Regions from separate parts of the Homo sapiens genome. Here all the other regions are linked to region 4. The links are contacts of gene promoters, found by promoter capture Hi-C in blood cells and fetal thymus (Javierre and others, 2016). All regions are on one chromosome and are shown on one strand. Each heading gives the region's core, a stretch centred on a gene start or on the middle of the fragment in contact. The rest is flanking DNA. Distances are from core to core; before and after follow the strand shown. Region 1 holds the start of EIF3G (eukaryotic translation initiation factor 3 subunit G). Region 2 holds the start of ANGPTL6 (angiopoietin like 6). Region 3 overlaps SMARCA4 (SWI/SNF related BAF chromatin remodeling complex subunit ATPase 4). Region 4 holds the start of KRI1 (KRI1 homolog). Region 5 holds the start of DNMT1 (DNA methyltransferase 1). Region 6 overlaps CARM1 (coactivator associated arginine methyltransferase 1). Region 7 holds the start of MRPL4 (mitochondrial ribosomal protein L4).

Evidence for each region. Contacts are between HindIII fragments. The CHiCAGO score rates a contact against its expected background, and 5 or more counts as called.
Region 1: the fragment with the promoter of EIF3G here is called in contact with the fragment with the promoter of KRI1 in region 4 in 2 of 17 cell types (total CD8 T cells and naive CD4 T cells); the score reaches 6.2 in total CD8 T cells.
Region 2: a contact is called between the fragment with the promoter of ANGPTL6 here and the fragment with the promoter of KRI1 in region 4, in 2 of 17 cell types (total CD8 T cells and non-activated CD4 T cells). The highest score is 6.9, in total CD8 T cells.
Region 3: a fragment that was not itself captured here is called in contact with the fragment with the promoter of KRI1 in region 4 in 1 of 17 cell types (fetal thymus); the score reaches 6.3 in fetal thymus.
Region 5: the fragment with the promoter of DNMT1 here is called in contact with the fragment with the promoter of KRI1 in region 4 in 1 of 17 cell types (monocytes); the score reaches 6.1 in monocytes.
Region 6: a contact is called between a fragment that was not itself captured here and the fragment with the promoter of KRI1 in region 4, in 1 of 17 cell types (neutrophils). The highest score is 6.0, in neutrophils.
Region 7: a contact is called between the fragment with the promoter of MRPL4 here and the fragment with the promoter of KRI1 in region 4, in 4 of 17 cell types (total CD8 T cells, total B cells, activated CD4 T cells and 1 more). The highest score is 6.2, in total CD8 T cells.

The regions. Positions count from the first base shown.
Region 1 is chr19:10,118,649-10,121,562 of GRCh38, forward strand. EIF3G (eukaryotic translation initiation factor 3 subunit G) reads right to left here and starts at 1,251. Exons shown (of 11, transcript NM_003755.5): 1 at 1,192-1,251; 2 at 1,006-1,052; 3 at 440-523; 4 at 220-308; 5 at 20-79. The coding sequence starts at 1,211. RefSeq lists enhancers at 1-753, 754-1,509. The HindIII fragment of the contact is 4,736 bases long and covers 1-2,914 here.
Region 2 is chr19:10,101,335-10,104,367 of GRCh38, forward strand. It overlaps ANGPTL6 (angiopoietin like 6), which reads right to left and starts at 1,344. Exons shown (of 6, transcript NM_031917.3): 1 at 1,234-1,344. RefSeq lists enhancers at 1,354-1,403, 1,474-1,523. The HindIII fragment of the contact is 11,381 bases long and covers 1-3,033 here.
Region 3 is chr19:10,961,349-10,964,307 of GRCh38, forward strand. All of the region lies in intron 1 of SMARCA4 (SWI/SNF related BAF chromatin remodeling complex subunit ATPase 4), which reads left to right. Among named protein-coding and RNA genes, the nearest start is that of SMARCA4, 1.8 kb to the left of the region's middle. RefSeq lists a silencer at 1-49 and an enhancer at 2,567-2,696. The HindIII fragment of the contact is 1,307 bases long and covers 746-2,052 here.
Region 4 is chr19:10,564,478-10,567,368 of GRCh38, forward strand. It overlaps KRI1 (KRI1 homolog), which reads right to left and starts at 1,533. Exons shown (of 19, transcript NM_023008.5): 1 at 1,429-1,533; 2 at 1,240-1,313; 3 at 452-557. The coding sequence starts at 1,522. CDKN2D (cyclin dependent kinase inhibitor 2D) reads right to left here. Exons shown (of 2, transcript NM_001800.4): 2 at 1,983-2,891. The coding sequence ends at 2,581. RefSeq lists enhancers at 638-1,205, 954-1,003, 1,206-1,773, 2,722-2,891 and a silencer at 1,274-1,803. The HindIII fragment of the contact is 9,818 bases long and covers 1-2,106 here.
Region 5 is chr19:10,193,352-10,196,444 of GRCh38, forward strand. It overlaps DNMT1 (DNA methyltransferase 1), which reads right to left and starts at 1,602. Exons shown (of 41, transcript NM_001130823.3): 1 at 1,469-1,602. The coding sequence starts at 1,548. RefSeq lists a silencer at 1,306-1,545 and an enhancer at 1,806-2,035. The HindIII fragment of the contact is 2,077 bases long and covers 1,186-3,093 here.
Region 6 is chr19:10,890,445-10,893,426 of GRCh38, forward strand. The region is part of intron 1 of CARM1 (coactivator associated arginine methyltransferase 1); the gene reads left to right. Among named protein-coding and RNA genes, the nearest start is that of CARM1, 20 kb to the left of the region's middle. The HindIII fragment of the contact is 4,050 bases long and covers 1-2,982 here.
Region 7 is chr19:10,250,901-10,253,656 of GRCh38, forward strand. MRPL4 (mitochondrial ribosomal protein L4) reads left to right here and starts at 1,314. Exons shown (of 9, transcript NM_015956.3): 1 at 1,314-1,410; 2 at 1,497-1,563; 3 at 1,651-1,801. The coding sequence starts at 1,354. RefSeq lists enhancers at 669-1,242, 697-846, 977-1,386, 1,243-1,816. The HindIII fragment of the contact is 20,723 bases long and covers 1-2,756 here.

The sequences.
Region 1 (2,914 bases), core at 1-2,500, 450 kb before region 4:
TGGGGAAGAAGAGCCTCACCTTCCTCCTTGCGACAGCCTTTGAAGCCTTCCGGGTCTCAATCCTGAAGGTGCGGACAATCTGAGGATGGGAGGGGAGAAGGGTCAGGCTCCTGGGACCAAGGGATCTCCTTTATCAACCTCCTCAACACACCCCACCCCATTCCGGTCTATGGGCCCCCAAGCACAAGGGTCCCCACTCCCTGCACCCCCCACCCTCACCTTGAACTTCTTGCCATCCTCATCTATCTTGTACTCTGTCACTGTCTTTATGTTTCCGTTGATGACCTCCTTGGGAGGCGGCAGTGGAGCTGGCAGAAGGGGAAAAACAGAGAAAGACTGAGCCCTGGGTCATGGGGATCAGGAGCGGCAGGGCTGGAGGGAGAGGCAGCCCGGACACCGAGTGGCAGTCCTCACTCACCTCCCGGCAGTCCTCACTCACCTCCCGGCAGTAGCTCTGGCTCTGGGCTGGTGTCACCTGTGGCCAGAGGGATCCCCTTGAGGAGCTCGCTGGTGACACATTTGTCTGCAAAAGGCAGCGTAGGAAGGAGGAGTCAGCTCCAGGGGCAGGAGCTCCCCAGCTGCGATGGAAGGGCTTTTGGGATGACGCCTACAGCAAAAGCGGAGAAAGGCAGGCCAAGGGCAGAGGGCTGGCCAGGCAACGCACTGGGATGGCCCTGTGGGGACTCGGAGTGGCAAGGATGGGAGATCCCTCGTAGGAAGGTGGGTGCCAGGCCATGAAGCCAACCAGGCGCCAGTAGAGAAACAGGAGACGGGAGATTACAACTTCCTCCCTGGAGGGGAACAGCTGGGAGGCAGTGGCATGGGAGGAAGAGGGACCCGCCGGGGAACACCTGGAGTTGGCAACAGGCGGGTCCCAAGGAGGATGGCGCGGGGCAGGGGCAGACCGTGACGGGGTACACGGTGCCAGACTGGGAGATGGAAGCAGGCGGCAGTCACACGGCTTGGGCCTGGCCGCGAATACCCCGGGCGACCGTGTACACTTACCGTCCTCCCCCTCCTCCTCCACCTGGTCGGCCCAACTGGGCTTCGAACTGCGGAAACAAATGTGTGGGGAACGAAGATTAAGTCAGCCAGGCCCGGCTCCCGCAGCCTCGGCGTACCCAGGCCCCATAATACTTCCCAGAGCACCCCAACCGCTTCCCGTGCCCCTTTCCGCGATCGCCGACTCACTCAAAGTCTCCAGTAGGCATCGCAAAAAGTATTCTCCACGCAGCCCAAGCCCGGCCAGAGAGCGGAAGCGGGCGAAAACGAGACTTCCGGTGCCGCCGTCGCCGCCTAGAGGGGCCCAGCCGCGGCACCCACAGCGACACCTGCGGACGGAGGTGGAGGCGCACGCGGCTGTGTATGCTACTGGGCGCTGCTGGTACCAGAGTAGGGCCAGCGGGGGCAGAGGCTGATTTCAGGGCTGGTCCTATTAACCTTTAAAATTAAAATAGGCCAGGCGAGGTGGCTCAAGCCTGTAATCCTCGCACTTTGGGAGGTCGAGGCGGGCGGATCACCTGAGGTAAGGAGTTCGAGACCAGCTTGGCCAACGTGGCGAAACCCCGTCACTACTAAAAACACAAAAATTAACTGGGCGTGGTAGTGCGTGCCTGCAGTTCCAGCTACTCGGGAGGCTGAGGCAGGAGAATCGCTTGAACCCGGGAGGCGGAGGTTGCAGTGAGCCGAGATCGCGCCACTGCACTCCAGCCTGGCGACAGAGCGAGACACCGTCTCAAAAAAAAAAAAAAAAAAAAAATTAGCCAGGCGTGGTGGTGGGCACCTGTAATCCCAGCTACTCGGGAGGCTGAGGCGGGAGAATCGCTTGAACCCAGGAGGCGGAGGCTGCAGTGAGCCGAGATCGCACCACTGCACTCCAGCCTGGGGCTGCAGAGTGAGACTCCGTCTCAGAAAAATAAGTAAAATTAAAATAAATAATAATAATCATAAAGCTCACTTATTGAGTGCTTATTGTATATGAAGCATGGTGAGGAGGATATTACTTCCATTTTACAGCTGAAGAAACTGAGGCTCAGACTGGGTGCAGTGGCGCCTGCCTGTAATCCCGCACTTTGGGAGACCAAGGCGTGGGGATGGCTTGAGGCCAGGAGTTTGAGACAAGCCTGGGCAACATAGTGAGACCCCTGTCTCTAAAAAAGAAAAAAAGAAAAAGAAAGAAAAAAGAAACCAAAGTTCGGGGAAAACAATCCTTTTGCTTAAACTGTTCCTTGTCTTCTTTCCCGATCCCAATGATTCAGATGCCAAGTGGCCTCCCCTCAGCCACTCCCTCTTCTTTTCTTTGTAGCATTCTTGGCTTTCCGGTATAATTTTGTGCATTTACTTGTTTATTGCTCAGCTCCTTGCTCTAAGCACAACCGTCCTCAGTCGAAGTGATTCATGATGACTCCCCAGGGGAAAAAACTGGTCCTCAGGGAGGAAAAAAATCTTAGATATTGTGGTCTTCCAAAGCCAGCTCTATCAGACAGCATTTATCCCTAAGTATTTAGTTTCTGCCTTTAGGGAGATATTAAATGTAATTAAATTGAAATTAATTTAGTTGATGTAAATTCAATTTTAGGATAATTCGGGTTTTCTCCTAAGAAGGGTGATAATGAACAAAAAACGTTTGACAATGTCGGACGCAGTGGCTCACGCCTGTAATCCCAGCACTTTGAGAGGCCAAGATGGGCAGATCTCTTGAAGTCAGGAGTTCGAGACCAGCCTGGGCAATATGGCGAAACCCCGTCTTTACTAAAAATACAAAAATTAGCTGGGTGTGGTGGCCCGCGCCTGTAATCCCAGAACTTTGGGAGACTGAGGCAGAAGGATCACTTCAGCCCTGGAATTCGACCAGCCTGGGCAACACATAGTGAGACCCCCCATCTCTAAAAAACAACTTTTTTTTTTTTTTTTG
Region 2 (3,033 bases), core at 94-2,593, 460 kb before region 4:
GGAGTTTGAGACCAGCCTGGCCAATATGGTGAAAGTCCATTTCTACTAAATATAAAAATAAAAATAAAATAAAGAATAAGGGACACTTTCACAAAGACCTGATGGAAGAGAGAGAAGAGGAAGAGCATTCCAGGCAGAGAGAACAGCAGGTGCAAAGGCCCGGAGATTGCACCCAAGAAATGGCAGAAAGGGGCCAGGCACGGTGGCTCACGCCTGTAATCCCAGCACTTTGGGAGGCCGAGGCGGGAGGATCACCTGAGGTCGAGAGTTCAAGACCAGCCTGGCCAACATGGTGAAACCCCGTCTCTACTAAAAATACAAAAATTAGCTGGGCATGGTAATGCATGCCTGTAATCCCAGCTACTACTCAGGAGGCTGAGGTGGGAGAGTCACTTGAACTCAGGAGGCCGATGTTGCAGTGAGCAGAGATTGCGCCATTGCACTCCAACCTGGGCGACAGAGCAAGGCTCAAAAAAAAAAAAAAAAAAAAGGCCAGGTGCGGTGGCTCACGCCTGTAATCCCAGCACTTGGGAGGCCAAGGCAGGTGGATCACGGGGTCAGGAGATCGAGACCATCCTGGCTAACACAGTGAAATTCCGTCTCTACTAAAAATACAAAAAAAAAAAAAAAAATTAGCCGGGCATGGTGGCGAGCGCCTGTAGCCCCAGCCACTCCAGAGACTGAGGCAGGAGAATGGCGTGAACCCGGAAGGCGGAGCTTGCAGTGAGCTGAGATCGCGCCACTGCACTCCAGCCTGGGTGACAGAGCGAGACTCTGTCTCAAAAAAAAAAAAAAAAAAAAAAAGAAATGGCAGAAATGTCTATGAGGCCGGAAGAGAGAAGGGGGAAGCAGGAGGAGGTAAGAAGTGTCAGGGCAAAGTGTGAAGGGTCCTGTGGGCCCGGAGGAGGACTTGGGTTTTACTCTGAGTCAGGCAGGAGCCATGGAGGGTTCTGGGCTGGAGATGGCCACATTTACTTCTGGACTCAGACACCAAGCAGGGGCTCACAAGGATCCGGGGGTAGGGTCCTCTCTTTGTCCCCGATCACTGACATGCCCCACCCCCCACAACAGAGATTGAGCAACCCCCCAGAACTGGGACGTGTGTATAACACCCGCTGCCTTTTACACTCTCAGCCTGGGGTGGCGGGGTGGCCTGGGGGCCCCCAAGCCAAGCTGTGGTCGGAGTTTCCCCACAGTGAGAATCAACCTCCACCTACCTTCCCACCCTCTCACCTCTGATGCCCAAGACCCTGAATCCAGCGAAGCTCACAGAACACACAAGAAGTCCAAGGAAGAGCCGAGGGTCCAGTGGGGCCTCTGAGCTAGAGACGGGGAGAGGGCAGTGGGACAGAAGGAGAGAGGAGGCTTGGTAACCACTCCCCAGCCCCCAGAGCCTGGGAGTGGAGCTGGGATGCTGGGCCCAGGAGCCCAAACTATAAATATTTAGCATTTCCCGAATGAGAAATGAGACAGAATTGCCAGACCCCCCTGCCCAGGCCACCAGAGCCTGATAACACAGGTCAGTGTCCTGGACATCCCTCCCTTTCCCCCACACCCTCCACTGCAGAGCCCAGAGCGTGGGAGGCTGCAGGCCCTGGGGCAGCCAGGCGTGATCCCAGCCCCAGACACGCACACACCACACATAGAAAGAGGAACATCACTGGGGACTTACCGTGTGTAGGGCTTGGCTCTAAACTCTCCACACCTTTTACGTATTTGATCCTTACAACCTGAGCTGGATTCTGTATGTACCCTCATTTTACAGCAGGGAAAACTGAGGCTCAGAGAGGGTAAGCAACTTGCCTGCGGTCACACAGCCAAAAAGAGACCAGGATGGGAGCCAGCCAAGGTAGCTTGACTCAGAAACTCACACATGTACACCACAGCTGTCACACACATATGGGCACATAACAGAGTGGACACAAACACACACACACACATTTGCACGCACGCACACATTAACACCCAGCGAAAGTCTGGGTGCAGTGGCTCATGCCTGAAAGCCAGCACTTTGGGAGGCCGGGGCAGGTGGATTACCTGAGGTCAGGAGTTCGAAACCATCCTTGCCAACATGCTAAAACCCCGTCTCTACTAACAATACAAAAATTAGCTGGGCATGGTGGCATGCGCCAGTAATCCCAGCTACGCGGGAGGCTGAGGCAGGAGAATTGCTTGAAGCCAGGAGGTGGAGGTTGCAGTAAGCCGAGATCGAGCAACCGCATGCACTCCAGCCTGGGCGACAAGACTGAAATTCCATCTCAAAAATAAATAAATAAATAAATAAATAAATAATAAATAAATAATAATAAAGTGAGGAATTAATTAATTAAAATAAAAAATAAATATAAAAGACACAGCTGTAAATTTTTAAATTGTGATAGAAACAATATATTCTTAAAGTGAAAACCCTACCTCAGTTACATGTGATTTATGTTTTTTGGATTAATCTGGATTTTATAATTAGAAATAAAAATGTAAGGCTGGGCGCGGTGGCTCACGCCTGTAATCCCAGCACTTTGGGAGGCCAAGGTGGGCAGATCACGAGGTCAGCAATTCGAGACCAGCCTGGCCAAGATGGTGAAACCCCGTCTCTACTAAAAATACAAAAATTTGCCGGGTGTGGTGGCCCATGCCTGTAATCCCAGCTACTCAGGAGGCTGAGGCAGGAGAATCGCTTGAACCCGGGGGGCGGAGGTTGCAGTGAGCCACTGCACTCCAGCCTGGGCGACAGAGTAAGACTCTGTCTCAAAAAAAAAAAAAAAAAAAAGAAAAGAAATAAAAATGTAAGATTTTGAGTCCACATAATTATTTGTTGAAAATAATACAAGTCAGTATAATAGAGAAGCATTCATATATTCAACACTGTGAGACAAAACACCAGAGACCTTGGATTTGATAATTGATCTGATATCCTGGACAGTATTCATATGTACAGTGATAGCTATCTTTCTTTGGTGTTTTTTTTGTTTTGTTTGTGTGTGTGGTGTGTGTGTGTGTGTGTGTGTGTGTGTGTAGTTTTATGGTTCTGAGTTG
Region 3 (2,959 bases), core at 149-2,648, 400 kb after region 4:
CAGTGTCGCGAGGCCGTGGCAGCGGCGGCCCCCGCGGAGCGGCGGGGTGGGTGGGGGGCCCGGGCCGCGTGGAGGCCGCGCGATCCTCTCCGCGCGCGCTCTCGCCGGGGTCGCCGGACAAAGCTCGCCCCCCTCGCCCGGCACCCCTACAGTCGCCCTCCCAATTACAGCGGCTGCAACAATAGGCAGGCGTTGGGGCTTTTCTGGCTGCGTGGTAACGGGTCCGACCCGAATGTTGCGTTTTTGGCGAAGCTGCGATCGGGGCTCAGCCAAACCTCCAGATATGTCCGGCGTCGGCCGGACACGGGCATTAGCGGTCCCCTTGGGCTAGCCGACCTCAAATTGTCTTAAAAACGTGTCATTCCAGATTTTCAAGGAAAGGTAAAGGACTCCCCCGATGCCTTGCAGTTAGTGACTTCAAAATGTTTGCCCGAATTGGGGTTGGGGATGGGGTCGGCGGCAAGTAGGGGAGCACGGAGGAAATCCTTTGCTGTGTAAAAGCATTGCTTTTCTTTTGCATCCTTTTTTCTCCTTCCCAATTGGTTTTTCAGATTAAGGCTTTTATTTTCAACGTGGACCTTTTGGGCGAGTGTTTTGTCCCGATCTTGAAGATACCAGTCTTGATTTTTTTTTTTTTTTTTTTTGGTCAGTGACTCCTTGGGGAAAGTAGCAAGGGAATAAGCGGAAAAGCCGCTTCGCAGGAATTTGAAGCAAGTTTTCAGTTTGGATTGATAGGCTGCATTCAAGCTTGATTCCTGGTGCTGTCAGTCACTTAGCACACTGTCACTTTAGGGAAGTGGCTTAACCTCTCTGAACCTCTTAGTTTTCCTCCTTTGTGAAAGCTCCTTTGTGAAAGGGGGTAATCTCCCAAATGGAATTGGTGAAAGCCTGTAAAATGGTTCCTCGCAAGCGGGAAGCACTATTGTAATTGTCTGGTCCAATCTCCCTCATTGTTCAGCAGATAACTTCTTGAGGCCCTACTAAGTGTTGGATGGTCGGGGGTTGGATCCTGGAGCCTCTGCAGTCTTGGAGGGGAGCGGGTGGTAAATGTGGGAACAAACTCTCTTGGCCTATCGTTTATTGCTCTGAACCTGCACTGTGAGAGGGACACAGCGGACAGGCAGGGGATCGGTGGTAGCCAGAGATCACGGGGGCTGCTTGGAAGAGGGGGCCTCAAAATCAGGGAGGGTGTGTAGGATTGTATTTTGTTTTTGAGGCAGAGTCTTGCCTGTCGCCCAGGCTGGAGTTCAGAGTCCCAATCTCCGCTCACTGTAACCTCCGCCTCCTGGGTTCAAGCGATTCTCCTGCCTCAGCCTCCTGAGTAGCTGGGACTACAGGCGCCCGCCACCACGCCTGGCTAATTTTTGTATTTTTAGTAGATATGGGGTTTTACCATGTTGGCCAGGCTGGTCTCAAACTCCTGACTTAAGGTGATCCACCCACCTCGGCCTCCCAAAGTGCTAGGACTACATGTGTGAGCCACTGCGCCAGGATTGTATTTTGACTTTCCCTGGCCACCTCGGACTAGCCATTGTTCCCCTCAGCTACATTCATACATCAACTTGGTCCTTTCCGGTGTAGCTGTCACCCCCAGCACCGTGAGAGCTGGGGTTGTGTCTGCCTGGCTGGCCCCACAGTACCCTGGGCCTGACACATAGTAGGTCTTTAGCGAACTTATGTGGATTGAATGAGGGGGTCCTGTGGAAGATCGCGTGACCATCTGTGTAAAAGGCTTGGTGCAGGGCCAGGTGCAGTGGCTCATACCTGAAATCCCAGCACTTGGGGAGGCTGAGGCGGGAAAATTGCTTGAACCCGGGAGTTTGAGACTAACCTGGGCAACATAGTGAGACCTCATCTCTACAAAAAATACAAAAATTAGCCGAGTGTGGTGGCATGCACCGGTGGTCCCAACTACTCAGGAGGCTGAGGTAGGAGGACTGCTTGAGCCAGAGAGGTGGAGGCTGCAGTGAGCCATTCTTGTGCCCCTGCATTCCAGCCTGTGCACCAGAGTAAGACTGTCTCAAAAAAAAAAAAAAAAAAAAAGAAAAAGAAAGCTTGGTGCAGGACTGGGGGTGGATTGTAAGGGATACAGGTTAGTTGTTTGAACAGTTTTTGCACTTTCCAAGCCATTGTTTCCTGAACCTCAGTTGTCCTCATCTCCCCTACAAAGTGTGGGGTGGTGGTTAGCGTGGGGTGGTGGTAAGGAGTACTCATTCTGGAATCAGACCTCCTGAATTCACACCCAGCTCTCTAAATCGTAGCTTAACCTCAAGCGAGGCGCTTAGCAGTAGGGCCCCCCACTTGTGAAACAGGTAGGACGAGGATGCCCGAAACTTCACAGGCTTCTTGTGAGGGTTGAATGAGGTCACATGGGAAGCCGCTAACACACTGCTGCACCTGATGCGTAGTGAACACTTGATTTTTTTTTTTTTTTTGAGACGGAGTCTCGCTCTGTCATCCGGGCTGGAGTGCAATGCCCCTGTAGTCCCAAGCTCCTTGAGAGGCTGGGGCAGGAGGTACAGGCTGCAGTGGACCATGATTGAGCCACTGCACTCCAGCCTGGGTGACGAAGCGAGACCCTGTCTAAAAAAAGGAATAAAAATTAATTCATGCATAGTTAGGAAAGTAATAAATGGTTTTGCATGGGCCACCTAAAATCATTTTGTGTCCAGCCCTTTAGGAGACGTAAATGTTGATCGTGCAGGCTTTTGAGCAGGGGAGGTGATGTCATCAGAATTGTGATATAGGGCAGTGCAGTGGTCTCTAAACTTCTTGTCAGTGAGGAGCATTCCAACATATGTGTATTTATTTACAATTTATTTGTGTACCTTTGCTTCTCCTTGGGAACCCTCAAAACACCAGGAGATAACCTTAGACCATTCCATGTTTTGGCTGTTTGTGGGAGGTGGGAGCATGGGAGGGACTAGGGTTTTGGGCAGATGTCTGGTGGAACTTTCTT
Region 4 (2,891 bases), core at 283-2,782:
AATGGGGTCTTGCTATGTTGGCCAAACTGGTCTCAAACTCCTGGCCTCAATTGACCCTCCCACCTCAGCCTCCCAAAGTGCTGGGATTAGATGCTTGAACCACCTGCCCAGCCTGGTGGAGTTGGAATCATTCAGTCAGCAATTCCCACCTTGAATAGTGCCAAGGACACAGTCATTAACTCCACCACCAGGTAATAACCTAGGCTCTGCTAAGGACTTGTGACTTGTGAAGCAATTCATTCAATAGTCAAAACAGATGAACTGTGTAAACTGGGTAAATCCCAATCTATCCTTAAAACAGCCCTGAGGGGAGATGCTACCGTTAGATATACTTTACAGACAGGAAAAGAGGCTCAGAGAAGTCAAGTCACTTCTCTGAATCCACAGTCAGGAAAGGACCCCGGATTCTGCTCCAGAGGAAGGAGAGGTTTAGACAGGAGTGGCCCCGGACCTGTTCTGTTATAGAAGGTGGCATCTTTCTGATAAATGCGGGGGTCCTTCTTCTTCAACAAGGAGAGCGTTTTGTAAAAGTCCCGCTCCTGCTGGGGATCAAATTCCTAGGGCAGGAAAAGGGTTGGGGATAGATTTCAGAAGGGAGATAATAAGAGCCCTGGCGCCAGCAGGTGAGCTCAGCGTAGGGATTAGGATGGAGGGGGGTGGATCTGGCTGGGGAGGTCAAACAGGTGGTCAAACAGCAGGAGGGAGAGGGGCCCTCTTGGGGTGGGCAGGGGCAGGCCACAGGTAGGTACAGGATATGGGTAGAGGAAGGTGAGGGGCAAGGAGAAGGTAATTCCTGGGGAAGACAAAGACTTGACAAGGGGCAGGTGGGCTGAGGGCACAAGAGAGACAGCGGGGAGGGGCTGGGCCAGGCCGCACAGTGGGGCCAGGATCAGGGCTGATGTGAGAAGTTGGGCGCCCCACGTGGCGCAAGGAGTACACTAAAAAATGGCTAGACTCTTGAGGATGAAAGAGGAAAGGGGGGGTTCTTGGGGGACAGAGTCGCCCCACACATCAGAGTGGGCAGGTGGGGATCGTGGCAGGGGAGAGAAAATAACGGGGATTTGGCTCCCCTGGGGAGAGGGGGGGCACTGTCTGTCCCTCATGGGATGGGGAGCGGAGGATGGGACGCTCCCGCAGGGCGCTCTGGGGTTGGGGGTTCCCCCCCGTCTACATCGGGGTCGGGGTGCAGAGGGGGGCTTGGACGCCTCCGCACGTCCAGGACGGGGCGGGGACGCGCACCACGCGCTCGTCGCTTGAGTCCGACTCGGAGCTGGAGTCGCTGCTGCTGTCTCGGTCCCCGTAGCGATCCTTCACTGCGGGACACAGACGGGATGCCCCCCCCCAGGTCAGCCGGCGGGGCCACTCGACTCCCCACTTCCCAACCGGCCGGCGCGCGCAGGCTCCCGCGCGCATGCGCCCCGCACTCACGCCGCTGCAGTTCCTCGCGCTCCCGGTAGCGGTTGTACCGCGCGGCAAACGCCGCGTTCACCCGCAGCTGCGACGACCCGCGCGGTTCCGGCATGGCGGTTCTGTGGCCCATTGCGCACGCGCATTGAGGAAGCCCTGGACGGGGCGGGGCCGCCCTCAGTCCCGCCCGCATCCACTTGTAAACGAGGCGTACCGCTGCTAACCCCGCCCCTGGCTTTTCCGGGATCCCTTTCGCCTCATCACCGCAGTCACCGCCCACGGCTACGCCCCTGCGGGGAAGGCCGCGGCCACCGCCCACCCGCCCCACCCCCTGTGCTCCGGGCACCCAGCTGACATCTGGGGGCCCTTTCTCCACTCGCGGTTTCCTGCTTCCCTTCCGTTCCGACAGCGAAAACCGCTGCCCCACCCAGCTCACTCACCCTGGCGCCCTGGGAATTACTATTCTCTCCCCTCACCCACCACATCCACGATCCGCGACCCCCGTCCTCATCCCCATCAACATCCGGGATGTGTAACTCTCCATCCCAGACTCAAAAATCAGAAGCCACCCGTGCTGTGATCATGCACAAGTCTTAATTTAATGGGTAAAAACATTAAATTATTACAACATTTTTTCCAATAAAGCATAATAAATAGAATCCATTTCTTTTAAAACGCTGTACAAGAGACTGGAAAACAAGCTTCCAACAGAATATGAATAACTCATAACTCATTCTACCTTCTTATTGATTTGGGACGCTCCCCCCACCCCCCATGCCTGAAGCAACGTGCACACTTCAGGTCTCTGAGCACAGCCGGCCAAGGCCACCAGCTTCTAGGCTCCCTGGAGGTCATGACTTCACTCTTAAATGCTCTGCCCTTGGGTCTCGTCTGAGGCCCCAGCAGCCTGAGGCGCAGAAGAAACTGAACCGTTTAGGTGGCTGTGGCCTGCAGGAGCCCTTCTCTGTCCAACACACCAAAAGGAGTGAGAAAAACAAATGAGAAACGTCCCCCAAACACTCACACCCCCAAAACCAACACCTATAAGCCACAAACTGTGCTCCTCCCCTACTGCAGCAGTGGGCAGGAGAAACAAGAAGAGAAAGTGTTTCTTCCCCTCTCTTCTGATACATAACCCCACGGGGTTCTCTTGCTGGAGAGGGTGACCCCAGATCACAGCGGGGCCACCATGTGGCCCTGCAGGATGTCCACGAGGTCCTGAGCCCCTCTCTGCAGTGCCAGCTCCAAGGGTGTGAGACCCCTGGCGTCCCTGCGATGGAGATCAGATTCAGCTGCCAGAAAGCTGACCACAGCAGTGTGACCCTCTTGAACTGCCAGATGGATTGGAAGTGCCCCGGTGCCATCAGGCACGTTGACATCAGCCCCGTGCTCCACTAGGACCTTCAGGGTGTCCAGGAATCCAGTGCGGGCTGCGTCATGGACTGGACTGGTACCGGAGGTGTCCTGGACATTGGGGCTGGCAC
Region 5 (3,093 bases), core at 352-2,851, 370 kb before region 4:
TAAAAATAAAAAGTGTTTCTTTTTTTGAGACAGGGTCTCACTCTGTCACCCAGGCTGGAGTGCAATAGCGCGATCTCAGCTCGCTACACACAGCCTCAACCTCTGGGGCTCAAGTGATACTCCCACCTTAGTCTGTTGAGTAGTTGGGACCACAGGCGCACGGCACTACTCCAGGCTAATTTTTGTATTTTTAGTAGACATGGGGTTTTGCCTTGTTGCCCAGGCTGGTCTCAAACTCCTGGCTCAAGAGATTCGTCCGCCACTGCCTCCCAAATTGCTGGGATTACAGGCATAAGCCACAGCACCCAGCCTTCAAAAAAAAAAAAAAAAAGAAAAGAAAAAAAGCGGGGGTTGAACCAAATATCCATCCCTCCCCAAAGACCCAAATCAGAACCGGACTGGCCCAACCAGGTCAGTTAACAAGCCTAAGGAAATAGAAAAATGGCAAAGAGTGCTTTCACAAATCCAGCTGGAAGTGTCCACGCCTGGTGAGGGTTCCTCTGACTCACGCACACCTCACTTGAACAAGTTTTCAGGAATGAACTGATGGCGTTCATGAACAAGGGGCTGGGACCAGTGCTCCCACTGATCCTTGTGCACGGAAGTTGGACAGAGGCATGAACTGCTAAAGCCAGGGCCTCCAACATTAGACACACACTAAAGAACACACCCATGAACACACACAAACACACACGAAAGTGTAGCCAGTTCTCATTAGCAAGACTTCCCTGATGCCCACGGCTCACAGGCACAGATTTACAGGAAAAGACCAACCATGCAGCCTTCACGCTTCCCGGGCCCTGCGCTGCAATGCACGGTTAAAGTTCCTGCCAAAACATGGACTTTCCCAAGGAGCAAGAACCACACAGTCCCAACTGACAGAATGAGTACCCCACGGAAGGCTGGGCTCTCGAACATGAGCCAGCCCAGCCCAGGCCCCGACGGGTGACATCCGTCTCTGGAGGCCGCCATCGAGATGCACAGCTTTGGGGGAAAGGCACTGAGGGACCCCCCACCACAGAAGCGCCCCCGGGGACCGGGCCGGACACCGGAAGTGGAGGCCGAAGTGCCGGTGCCCGAGGGGTGTCCGTTGGCCGCGGGCTGCCCACTTCCTGTGCGACCAAGCTGGAGTCAAGAGCCCGGCCCACCGCTGCTTGAAGAAGGGGACCCCGGAAACGAACCCAAAGCTTGCTGTATTTGGGGATCAAAAGAGAACCCCCACCCCGCCTAGTTTCTAGCCACCAGGGAGCTACGGGGGAATCCACGGTCCATTTTGGCGCCAAACAGCCCGGGCACGCGCGACCGGAAGTGCCACCCTGCCCGCGCCAACTGCCGCTGCGCGCCGCACCACCCCACGCATGCGCGCCCGTCTGTCAGCAGCGGCCACCGGCCACCCCGAGGGGAAGCGACCCCCCACCCAGCGCCCTGCCTGTCCCCCTGAGTCCGTGTTCCCCCCCATGGTACCTACCGCCTGCGGACATCGTCGGGCAGCGAGATGGCCGGGACGGCCAGTGTGGGCACCCGGGCTGGGGCGGTACGCGCCGGCATCTCGGAGGCTTCAGCAGACGCGGCGGCGGCAGCGCAGGCGCCCCGGCTTTTCGCGCGGAAACCGATGGGGAGGGGCGATGAGCGGAGGCGGCGTCTACCACCCCAGTCCGGGCGTGGGGGAGGAGGGGATGTACCAAACGGAGAGAGGCGATACCCTGTGCAGAAGGATGGAACGGAGCCGGCCATGCCCAGGGAACACGCATGCGCAAGGCGGGCACACACCCCCCCCACGCGGAGCAGTGGGCTCGTCCAAGCTCCACGGTTTGCTGGGAGGTGGGCACGGTGCCCGAGGCATTCATTCATTCATTCTTTCAGGTGTGATGGGGATAAAGCAGCGAGAAGCCCCCAAGGGTTTGTGAGAGCCCTTGAGTAAAGTCCTCAGTTCCAATCCAACCTCCATCTATTTGCTGGCTATACGACCTTAGGTGGGTCACTACGGCTCAGCCTCTGTGTCCTCATCTGTAAAACGGGGTAATTGCACCTACTCTAGAAAATCTTGAGTATACACAGAATTTGTAGCTAGTACCAAGAATCTCACAGTGTATAGAGGCCCATGCCACTTCTATACCCAGTGTGTGGGGGGTTTTTTGTTGCCTTTTTTAAGCACCACGTGGCTCACGCCTGTCATCCCAGCACTTTGGGAGGCCAGGGTGGGAGGATCGCTTGAGCCCAGGAGTTTTAGACCAGCCTAGGTAACATAGAGAAACTGCATCTCAAAAAAAAAAAAAAAGAAAGAAAGAAAGAAAGAAAAAAAGAAAAACAAAAATTAGCTAGTCGTTGTGGCATGTGCCCATAGTCCAAACTACTCCAGAGGTTGAGGCAGGAAGATCACTTGAACCGGAGAGGCAGAGGTTGCAGTGAGCCATGATTGTACCACTACATTCCAGCCTGGGAGACAGAGCAAGACCTTGTCTCAAAAAAATAAAAATAAAAAGTAAGAATAAATTAAGAAGCACCATGTCAGGCGCAGTGGCTCACGCCTGTAATCCCAGTGCTTTGAGAGGCCCAGGTGGGAGGATCGCTTGAGGTTAGGAGTTCAAGACCAGCCTGAGCAACATAGGGATACCCCATCTCTACAAAAAATACAAAGATTTGCTGGGCATGGTGACACACACCTGTAATCCTAGCTACTTGGGAGGCTGAGGTGGGAGGATGGCTTGAACCCTGGCAGTGTAGGCTGCAATGAGCCATGATTGGGCCACTGGACTCCTGCCTGGGCGACAGGGTAAGACCCTGCCTCACTCTGTCACCCCGGCTGGCGTGCAGTGGTGAGATCTTGGCTCACTGCAACCTCTGCCTCCCAGGTTCAAGCGATTCTCATGCCTCAGCCTCCCTAGTAGGCTGGGATTACAGGCGTACTCCACCACGCCTGGCTAATTTTTGTATCTTCGGTGGTAGAGACAGGGTTTCACCATGTTGGCCAGGCTAGTCTGGGACTCCTAGCCTCAAGCAGTCCACTTGCCTCAGCCTCCCAAAGTGCTGGGATTATAGGCCTAAGCCACCGTAACCAGCCAGAATTTTTTTTTTTTTTAAAGCACCAGAACA
Region 6 (2,982 bases), core at 313-2,812, 330 kb after region 4:
TTTAGTAGAGATGGGGTTTTACCATGTTGGCCAGACTGGTTTCAAACTCCTGACCTCGGGTGATCCACCTGCCTCGGCCTCCCAAAGTGCTGGGATTACAGGTGTGAGCCACCCCACCGCGCCTAGCCTAAAAATTAGTTTTGTGTGGTGGTACATACCTGTGGTCCCAGCTACTTTGTTTTATTTACATATATATATGTATATGTATATACGTATATATGTGTATACGTATATACATATATACACACATATATACACACACATATATACACATGAATATATAGACACATATATACACATGCATATACACACACACATATACACACACACATATATATATATATATATATATTTTTTTTTTTTTTTTTTTTTTTTTCTTGGTATAGCTCTATCCTTCCTGAAGTCCCAGCTCCTTAGGAGGCGGAGGTGGGAGGATTGCTTCTTGAGCACAGGAGGTCGAGGCTGCAGTGTGCTATGACTGGGCGGGCCATTGCACTCCAGCCTGGGTGACAGAGGGAGACCAAAACTGAGTCAGTGTTCCCAAGCAGTGTGTGAAGCTGATTCTCTGTCAGCCACGTGCCAGATGGGTTGGGTCCCAGGGGTGGCCACCTGGGGGACAGGGCCAGACACTTGTTCTGGGCCCAATATGGCCTTGTGTCCAGAACTCTCTCGGTGGCTCCTTCTCTCGACCCTTTGCCTTGAGCCGGAGCACTGTGGGGACACAGGAACCAAGACTGGTGTTTTGTGCCAATGCCACACTACTGTGTGCCCGTGGGTCTTGGGCCGGGCATGGGTGGGTTCGTCCTCATGGCTACACAGTGAACCATGTGTTATTTTATTTTTCTAGACACTAAAGCTGAGGTGTCGGGAGGTGATGGTCCCTTGCTTGCAGGTGGCAGAGCTCAGGTTCAAACCTGGATCTTACTGCACCTGGCTCGTTTGGGAGGCCTCCCTTGCTGGAATGCAGGTCAGGGAGCCCCGATGCCCTTGGGCTGACTGCCCCACGTCCATCACACCCACTGAGGGCCGTGGGGTGGGTGCAGGGCTTGTTCTGGGAGATTCCAAGCTGAGGAAAGCAGGGCTGTCCGCCAGCCTCCAGCTGGGTCACAGAAGAGGCTCAGGGCCTGTTCCCACTCCCCTCCCCCAGCCAGCAGGGTCCAAAAGGATGTTGGGGGGGTGGTCCCCAGTCCGGCCTGCCCACTCTAGGGAGGGGCCCAGATAACTTGCGTAGACGCCGGCCCTCCCGCCCCCAGCCTTCGCCATTGCCTTTTGTCTGGCTATCTTTCATGTACAAGGGAGAAATTCAAGCCACTCAGGAGGGTGTAACATGAAAAGTCAGTCTCTCCTTCTCTCCGCACTGCCCGTGACCTGTGGTTTCTCAGGCACATACAAGCGCGCACGCATAAATCTCTCCTCCAACCTGCTGGGCTTCAAGTTATGCACGTTCACACAATGGCAAAGGAGGGTGCGGATTGAAAAGTATGACTTGCTTCCCGGAGGCAGCACTGAAGTCACTTTATTGTGTTTCCAGACAAGCCCCATGAATGCAGTGTGCACTGCCCCTCCTCCCTCTGTCCCTTCCCCGCCCATCTGTACACCTGTGGTGCGTAGGTTTTACACCACTCTGTGCCTTACGTTGTGGCTCGATCATTTAACATGTCAGTGTGTACCGATGGAAATTGATCTCTTTTAATTTGCCACATCTTCATTTATTCATTCTTTGATTAATTGATGGATATTTAGGTTTTCTGCTTTGGGGGCATTCAGATCCAGGTGTATCTCTGCAAGTAGAGCTTGTAGCATACATAAGGCCCTGCAAAGGGATTTCTGGGCCGGAAGTTTTTGATCAGTTGCTCAGACATAGTTCTGATGTGCTGGGGAAGTGCCCGTTCAGGGCCATGGCTGCAGGGCTCCTGGACACCCAGCTCCGGTGCTGGAGTGGGGTTGGGATTCGCCCAGAGGCCAGGGCTGCGCCAGAGGAGCCCAGGGTGACCTCATGGTCCTCAGATACCCGGGGCTGGGCAGCACAGTGGAACAGCTGCTCCAGAGCTTCTCCGAGGACGACATCGGAGGATCCGACTCAGGTTACGGCAGGAGAGGGAGGCCAGGCCGGGTTAGGGTTCTGGGGTTTGGGATTCTCTTCCGAGGCTGGCATTGATCTGTTGCTGATGATGGTAACAGCAGCTGCTCTTGTTTATGAAGTACTTAACACCTCCAGCTCCCTCCATTACCTAGGAATCCTCACTGCAGGGAGGGGTTTTCATCCCCATTTTGTGCCTATTTTATTTATATTATTTTATTTTTTGAGGCAGGGTTTTGCTCTTGTTGCCCAGGCTGGAGTGCTATGGCACGATTTCTGCTCACTGCAACCTCTGCCTCCTGGGTTGAAGTGATTCTGCTGCCTCAGCCTCTTGAGTAGCTGGGATTACAGGTGCCCGCCACCATGTCTGGCTAATTTTTTGTATTTTTCGGTAAAGATGGGGTTTCACCATGTTGGCCAGGCTGGTCTCAAACTCCTGACCTCAGGTGATCCACCCGCCTCAGCCTCCCAAAGTGGTGGGATTACAGGCGTGAGCCAACACTCCCGGCCCTGCCCATTTTATTTATTTATTTTTATTTTTATTTTTTTCAGATGGAGCTTTGCTCTTTTTGCCCAGGTTGGAGTGGAATGCAACCTCTGCCTCCCAGGTTCAAGTGATTCTCCTGCCTTAGCCTCCCGAGTTGCTGGGATTACAGGCATGTACCACCATGCCTGGCTAATTTTATATTTTGAGTAGAGACGGGGTTTCACCATGTTGGCCAGGCTGGTCTCGAGCTCCTGACCTCACATGATCCACCTGCTTCGGCCTCCCATAGTGCTGGGATTACAGGCGTGAGCCACTGCCCCCACTGTGCCTATTTTATTTCATTTTGAGACAGAGTCTTACTCTCTCCCCCAGGTTGGAGTGCAGTGGTGCGATCTCGGCTCACTGCAACCTCCAC
Region 7 (2,756 bases), core at 64-2,563, 310 kb before region 4:
AAAATACAATACAAAAATGAGCCGGGCTTGCGTACCTGTAGACCAGCTACTCAGGAGACAGAGGCAGGAGAATCCCTTGAGCTCTGGAGGTCGAGGCTGCAGTAAGCCATGATCTTGCCCATTGCACTCCAGCCTGGGCGACAGAGGAAGACCTTGTCTCTAAAAACCAAAACAAAGAAACTAAAAATAAGCATTCGGATTTGTTAGGGGGCGACAAGGGAGGCACTCCAGGATCTGTGGACTCCCCACTTTGTTCTGTCCTTGGAGAGCCCTGGAAGGTCTGAGAGGGGACGGGACCTGGTTTAAGGGGGTAGGGGAGAGGACCCTGGTCTAGGGGGTAAGGGACACAAATACCTAATCTGAGGGGTTTCGGGGGGACATGGCCCTGCCCTGGGGAATCTAAACTGGGAGGCATGGTCTGGCAGGCCCAATCCTGAAGGCTTTCTGAGGGCAATAAGGCCCTGCCTTTAAACAAATGAAAAAACGCCAGGCACGGTGGCTCACGCCTGTAATCCCAGCACTTTGGAAGGCTGAGGCGGGAGGATCACGAGGTCAGGAGATCGAGACCATCCTGGCTAACGCGGTGATACCCGTCTCTACTAAAAATACAAAAAATTAGCCAGGCGTGGTGGCGGGCGCCTGCAGTCCCAGCTACTCGGGAGGCTGAGGCAGGAGAATGGCGTGAACCCAGGAGGCGGAGCTTGCAGTGAGCCGAGATCGCGCCACTGCACTCCAGCCTGGGCAACAGAGCAAGACTCCGTCTCAAAAAAAACAAAAACAAAAACAAAAACAAAAACAAAAAAACAAATAAAAAAACAAAACCACATAACTGGATAAAGAAAAAACCATCTCCGACAGCCTTGGAGGCGGGATGAAGGCGTGGCCCGGTGGGCGTGACCAACAGCAAAAGTTTAAGCGTTATTGGCTGTATTCCTTAGTTGCTCACTCCAGAACTGCCCACTTATGGGCGGGGGTCACTCCTTCAGGCTTAACAGTCATTGGCTGAATTGGGCCAGAGAGGTCTCATTGGCTGAATTCCTGCACCGGCTCGTCGGAGGCGGGACCCAAAGTAGGCTAGGCCTACGGAAGCTGGGTCTTCTTGCTGTGAGGTCGCGTTCCCCAGTGTTACGGAGGGTCCTTGAGGCAGGAGTGAAAATTGGGTCTGGGGGTTAGTCCTGGGGTGGAGGTCTGGGCACGCCGGGTCGGACCCCCTCCATCTTCGGTTTTGCACACCCCGCTTTCCAGCGCGGAGTCGCGGCGGGTAGGGCGGCGTCGCGTGCGTGACGTCATCCAGCGGCGCCTCGCGAGGCTCCAGTGGCCTTGACCTCCCGCGGCGTGGGAGGCTGCGCGGCGATGCTGCAGTTCGTCCGGGCCGGGGCGCGGGCCTGGCTTCGGCCTACCGGCAGCCAGGTGAGGCCAGGGGCTGGAGGCGTGGTCGAAGGATGAAATTTGGGGGTGTCCAGGGGTCGTCTCTCACTTTCGCCCAACCCTTGCAGGGCCTGAGTTCCCTGGCGGAAGAGGCAGCGCGTGCGACCGAGAACCCGGAGCAGGTGGCGAGCGAGGGTAAGGCAACCGGGGTGGCTCCAGGAGGGGCGGCGACAGAGAGGTCTGACCCTTGACCCTAACCTCTGACCCCCGCAATCGCTCCAGGTCTCCCGGAGCCCGTGCTGCGCAAAGTCGAGCTCCCGGTACCCACTCATCGACGCCCAGTGCAGGCCTGGGTCGAGTCCTTGCGGGGCTTCGAGCAGGAGCGCGTGGGCCTGGCCGACCTGCACCCCGATGTTTTCGCCACCGCGCCCAGGTGAGCGAGGGCTGTAATGGTGAACTGAGTGGCAGAGGGATGAAGAGCGGGATTTCAGGAGTCACGATGACTTTGGGCTTGTACCCTTGGGAAAGTGCTGTATTTCTACAGCCTCCGTTTCTCCACCTGTCAAAGGGGAATGATGACAGTTTCCCCTGCTGTAGCGCTGTGTGAGATTGAAGCCTGAGAGGTGACATCATCTAAGGGTTAGGGAGACAGAATTCTGGAGCCCGACTGATTAGGTTCAAATCCTGCCTTCCCCTCTTGTCCCTCAGTGTCCCTATTTTGTCAGCGGTCGGGAGGTTGCTGTGATGAATAAATGACTTAATTCTGGCACATAATAAGTTCTATAGAAATGTTGATAATCTTTGTTAACTGGTTTTTGCAAATAAGAGCACTAAAAAGACTAAACCATTCCTCGGTGCCTGGAAGAGGCTGTTTGCATTTTAGTTACCCTGCTGTTCATAACATCTCTAAGAAAATGTAGGGGCCACCCTGGGCGCAGTGGCTCACGCCTGTAATCCCAGCACTTTGGGAGGCCAAGGCGGGCGGATCACGAGGTCAGGAGATCGAGACCATCCTGGCTAACATGGTGAAACCCCGTCTCTACTAAAAATACAAAAAAAAATTAGCCGGGCGTGGTGGCGGGCGTCTGTAGTCCCAGGTACTCTGGAGGCTGAGGCAAGAGAATGGCGTGAACCCGGGAGGCGGAGCTTGCAGTGAGCCGAGATCGCGCCACTGCACTCCATCCTGGGCAACACTCTGTCTCAAAAAAAAAAAAAAAAAAGAAAGAAAAGAAAATGTAGGGGCCAGTTACTGTGGCTCACATCTGTAATCCCAGCACATTGGGAGGCCGAGGTGGGCGGATCACTTGAAACCAGGAGTTGCAGACCAGCCTGGCCAACATGATGAAACCCCGTCTCTACCAAAAATACAAAAATTAGCCGGACGTCTT